Linked DNA regions of Homo sapiens: region 1 is linked to region 2. Evidence: promoter capture Hi-C in 16 types of primary human blood cells and fetal thymus (Javierre and others, 2016). All regions are on one chromosome and are shown on one strand. The core of a region is centred on a gene start or on the middle of the fragment in contact, and the rest is flanking DNA. Distances in the headings are between cores, read along the strand shown. Region 1 holds the start of FLT3 (fms related receptor tyrosine kinase 3). Region 2 holds the start of SLC46A3 (solute carrier family 46 member 3).

Region 1 (2,700 bases), core at 51-2,550, 620 kb before region 2:
TGTATTAACGGAATCTGGAAAACATATTGTACTACACATTTGAAATTACAGATTTACTAACTAGTAAAGATAACTATTTAAGAACTAAAATGTCTTTGTTTTTCAACTCTTTTCCCCCGATTTCCATTTTTTACTTTTTATATTTCAGAATTATTTGTAACAAAAGCTATTGGATATAATTCCTGCACTTCTATATTGCAAGCATTTTCTCTATTTACCACAGAGACTTCAAGTCCTAGCATTTCAGAGCTGAAGGGGACTCGGACGGACTCCCTCACTGCACAGATGAGGACGCGGAGGCCGGGGGAGGTGAGTGTCAGTCCCAAGGTTGCAGACCTAGGACAGGGACCGGAGCTGCCGGGCACCCAGAACTCTGTCGCCTTCAACCCAAATTCGATTCAGTCCTCTCATCTTTCCAAATAGAAAGCTGACGCGAACCGATGGGAAGATTTTTTTTTTCAATAACAACTATGCTACCCAGCAGATTCTTTGGGGACAGTCCTCGGAGTCCTTGAAAACCCCTTTGGGGTTTATGCCAGGATAAGAAGAGACTAGAAGAAAGGGACAGCTAGTATTTTAATATGTAAATCTGTTTGCATAATATTTCCTAGGTAAACTATTCGTTGATCCAACCAAAATTCGGCGGGGCTGGGGGGTATCGTTATTGAGGATGACTCGCTCTAGGGGAGAACGCGGACGCATTTTCCCATCAGAGTTCCCTCCATAAATCAAAACCTCAAAAGAAGAGTTAAAGACGACACCCAGGTGTCTACAGTATCCAAGGGCCGGGCCAGGAGAGGTCCTTGGCCACCTGGCGCCGAGTTCGCGGCCGCAGACTCCCACGGACGGCCCAGCACCCGAGCGCGCGGGCCGAGCTGCCCCAGACCCGGCGCAGCGCCTCGGCGAGGCCGTCTGCGAAGTCCGGGCCGCCACTCGGGACCGCGGCCCGAGCCAGAGGAGAGACTTCGGAGAAGAGGGAAGAGGACGCGGGGTGGGAAACGCCGGGGCCGCAGGCAAGTAGTGGGCGAGTCCGGAGGGCGCGAAAGAGGGGAGGGGCGCGGGAGGCAATGGAAGGAGCGAGCGCGGGGAGGAGCGAGGCGGCTGGGCCGGAGGAGGCGCGCGCCCGGGTCCACACTGCGGGGTGGGGGCTGAGGGACCGCGAGGGGCTGCGAGCGAGCGAGCGGGGCCTTACCGAGCAGCGGCAGCTGGCCGCCGTCGCGCGCCAACGCCGGCATGGCCTCCGGAGCCCGGGGTCCCCAGGCCGCGCCGGCCCAGCCCTGCGATGCCGCCTGGAGCGGCGCGCCTCGCGCTGCAGGTGGCTCTCTTAAGGATGCGCGTCACCGACCGCAAATTCCCTCGGACTGGTGCAAAGTGGAAGGGGGGAGGAACCCTCTCCCCAGAGGCAGGGACCGAGGCGGGAGCGGAGAGGTTGGGCAGAGCCGAGCAGCCGGTGCCTGGCGCAGCGCTGCAGCCGAGCCCACGTGCCCGCCGCGGTCCGCAGCCTGTGCTCGGCGGCCCCCGGGGCTCCCCGACTGCGGCGGGGAAGATTGGGCGCGGTCCCGCCGGAGAAGTTGCACTGGCTCCGCGGCTCTGCCGCCTTGCTGCCCCTGTGAGTCCCCGAACTCTGTCGTTTGGATCCGGGGCGTGGGGACTGCAGGGAGCCACAAACCACCCTCCTAGTGCGCTGGGATCTTTGAGGCCCTGAGAAAGGCGCTGAATCCGCTCGGCACGCTGGCAACTCCCGCCAGCGCACAGGCGAGCATTCCATTAAGAACCATTCCATTCTTAATTGTGGACTGATTTCCTTTGTCTCTGCCTCCATCTCCTAGGATGCTCAGGACCCAGTCAGCGGCGGGATCAAGAAAAACAGGCAGGGTTTCAATGTCAACCAAGGCAATTAGGGAGGTTAACAAACAGCCTTCAAAACAAAACACACAGAAAATACATCCCAGAGGATGTTGCGAATCATCCGCTCAATAGTTCTTGTTCTTCATCGCATAATTTTTCGAGTTGAAAATTATTATTATTTTCTTTGCAATAAGTTGAGGATTGGAAAGCTCTGGATGCCAGTTCTGGTTCTTCCCTTACTTAACTAGCCGTTTGACCTCCACAAACCTCTGTTTACTCATCGTAAAGGAAAGGGATGGACCAAATGGTTCATAATGTCTCTCCCAATTCTAGGAATTCCACGCTCTTAATTATTTTAATTATTTTCTAATAAAGCATGAAAATTGACTGTTTACTCTTGGCCATACAGTTCTTTTCCTTAGATGTTGTCTACAGTACAATAATTCTTTCCCCTAGGGTATGGCAGAAACTTTAGAAGTGTCTACCATGGTGCAGCCACTATGGAAAACACTATAGAGGTTTCTCAAAAAATTAAAAAAAATACGGTCCAACAATTCCATTTCTGGCCATGTAGCCAAAAGAATTGAAAGCAGGGTCTTGAAGAGATGTCTGTACACCCGTGTTGAAAGCAGCATTATTCACAGTAGTCAAAAGGCAGAAGTAACCCATGTCCACAACAGATGAATGATAAACAAAAATGCAGTATATACATACGACTGAGTATTTTTCAGCTTTAAAGAGGAGGGAAATTCTGATACAGCTAAAATATGGATGAATCTTGACATTATGCTAAGTGAAATAAGCTAGTCCCAAAAAATACAATACTGTATCCCATTACAAATTCATAAAGAC
Region 2 (2,750 bases), core at 225-2,724:
TTTTTTTTTTTTTTTAGGACAAAGCAAGGAGACAGCCACAGAAGAGATGACACTGTGGTGAAATTTTCCGAGAGAAAGGAGAAGAGCTAGTGTCACAGAGCAGGAGGGTGTTTTAAGAAGAAGAGGCAGATTTGAAAGGTGTCAGGAAACTTCAAATGAGGTGAGTTCCCAGTAAAGGCCATTAGGTTTGGGATTTAGGACTTTGATGGCCGCCCTAGAGAGACCAATGGATGATGAGTTCACGGTCCTCTTTAACTCAAAGCCCGGTATACATTCCCATTTTATTAAATACTATGGATATTGTAATTTCTTACCTCCTGGAATGCAAAAATTGGGCTGCTTTTGTTTTTTTCACACTCAGAAATATTGCTATCAGATGAAAAAGTGTAGTTGCCAGTTTCTTCCCATATTCTCCGATAAACATATTGCGTTGTCAGTGGACCGGTCAAAGTCATAGCAAATGCACTAAGGAAAATGGCAGGTTCTACAAATAAAATCTTCATATTGCCTGGGTAGGTAGCTGTATTCTATAAAAAGTGAAAACGGAGAAAGATCATCTGTCTCATCCCAGAGGCTAGATATTCAAAGATGGGTAAGTTTGAGCAATTTTGTGGAGTAAATGTTTAAACAAGCAAACTAGAGAACAGAAAAGGCAGTAAGCACTTTCTCAGAGAATAACTTTTACTTTGGAGTAGAGTACTCTGTAACAACCTGAGGCTGCCATGCTTTCCATTTTTATGAGTAGGACATTGTAGGACTCAAGCCGCCTTTGAGTCTTTGAAATCATAAACTGTCACCCATCTTGGTTAGCCAATGATCACAGTACAGTTCCCACACTGTATATTGCCAACTGATTTTTCGTAAGTTCAACAATGAGGTTCCTTTTGGGAAGCGACAGTTGCACAATTGTTATTGTTATTTTGCTGCGTATTAAAAACGGACAGGGAGGGGGCGTTTTAAAAAGCAGCTCCCAATCGAAAGGGCCTTATTTTTAACTCACCCCACGATTACAGTCTTCCTGCCAGGCTGGGTACAGGTCGGGCCGTGCCAGGGGCTGTCGCCTCGGATGCCCTGCGCTCGTGCGCGCCCGGGTTCAAGGGCAGCCTCTGGACTGGGGCAACAGAGGACGCGCCGGGGACAGTAACCTCGGACTACGCGGCCGGCGCTGGGGTGGGGAGAGTACTTTCCCGTCGAACTCGACCAAATTACGCTTGTCGGGGAGTCTCAAGCGTATTGTAAAGCAAACCTCGGCAAGCGCACTTCCGCGTCCCGAGTGACACCTGCAGGGTTCTCCGGCAGCCCTCGGCTTCCCCGCGGCCCTGCGGACCTCGGCCTCAGCGCGGCGCGGCGGGGCGCGGAGCAGCTGCTCCTTCTGCGCAGTGGACAATCGGCCAATCGGCGCCTCCGTCGGTCGGTCAGCGGCCCTGCCAGCGCTAGGCGATGACTCGGCCGCAGCCAGCTGAGCATCGCTGTCCGCCGAGGAGGCGGGGTCGGCTGCCGCGGCGCTGTCACTGTTCTACCCGGCTCTCCTGCGATTGGGCCCAGCGGTCGGTGCCCCAGCGGCGATTGGTCCACCCGGACGTCACTCTCCCCTGGAGAGTGGCTAGTGGATCGTGCACCCACCCTCGGAGGCCCGGAGTGGATCCCGCGCGACCGAGCAGCCACTCAGCACCGCTGTTGAGTGGTGGGCCGCGCCGCAGGCTCAACAGCTCTGGAGTTGCAAAGCATTTCTGAATCCGAATATCCTTTCTCATAGAAACACATAAAACAACAGTTGGAAAAGTAACATGTTTGGGCTGTAGCCCCCAGCAGGATCCCGGTCGGCCCGCAGAAGAGGGGAATGGGCGCAGGTGGAGGGCATAGGAAAGAGAGTGCTCAATGCAGAGTTAGCGGAGGGTTGGAATGTGGTCGCTGGCTTTTCCTGGGGAGGGGAGGGGGGACTTGGGCAAATCGTTAAATTTTCATGAACCTCCATGTCTTTATCTGCCACGTGGGGATGATAAGTCTTACAGGGTTGTCTAATTAAACACTCAGCATGTATACACAACACAGCCCCTGGACATAGGAGGAGTTGTCAGTGCTCTCCAACACACCCACCAGGAACAACTTGTAGTAAAAGAATTGAGCTACTACTTCTTGAAGCCAGGAGAAATGCATGCATGAGGAACCGTGGGGGCATCTCAGTAAGAAGGTGTTAGAATTTACTATGGGCTTGCGTTATGTGATTTTGGGAAGAGTTCAAGAAAGCAAGGCCTTACTCTGGATTGGTTGCTGTCAGGAAATGGCAGTAATTCTATGATTGGGTATCTTAATAAGTCTTATTTAGGAGTCAAGACTAGACAGAGGCTAAAGCCATGAATGATAAAGAAGCAACAGTCACACATATTTGTCATTTTTGTGGTTTAGACAGTGCCTAAATTTTGTCCGTGTTCAGACAAAATTATGACGTGGTCTTGTTTTTGTCTTGATCATGGTTACAGAATGCTCTTGTCTGACTTTGGTGTTCCGTGAAATTGTTTTCATTCGACAGAACACCATGGTCCAGAAAAGTTCTTAGCAACACCAAGGCCCAGCTGATAGTTCCAGCACCTGGATGTCAGAGCTGCTTTCTCTTCCTCAGCACTCCTTAAATGACAGTTGTGTCACTGAATGCAGAGTTAAACGTCTTAGGTTTGAGTCCTAACTGATACTTAGTAGCTGGTAACCTTGGACTTGCCACTTAATCTTACTTCCCAGCTTCTTCAAATCAG

The links. Contacts are between HindIII fragments. The CHiCAGO score rates a contact against its expected background, and 5 or more counts as called.
Region 1: the fragment with the promoter of FLT3 here is called in contact with the fragment with the promoter of SLC46A3 in region 2 in 2 of 17 cell types (monocytes and naive CD8 T cells); the score reaches 7.2 in monocytes.

Annotation. Positions count from the first base shown.
Region 1 is chr13:28,099,276-28,101,975 of GRCh38, forward strand. It overlaps FLT3 (fms related receptor tyrosine kinase 3), which reads right to left and starts at 1,301. Exons shown (of 24, transcript NM_004119.3): 1 at 1,193-1,301. The coding sequence starts at 1,235. RefSeq lists silencers at 1,135-1,294, 1,415-1,474 and an enhancer at 1,585-1,714. The HindIII fragment of the contact is 16,771 bases long and covers 1-2,700 here.
Region 2 is chr13:28,717,496-28,720,245 of GRCh38, forward strand. It overlaps SLC46A3 (solute carrier family 46 member 3), which reads right to left and starts at 1,475. Exons shown (of 6, transcript NM_181785.4): 1 at 1,001-1,475; 2 at 315-527. The coding sequence starts at 503. The HindIII fragment of the contact is 12,183 bases long and covers 1-2,750 here.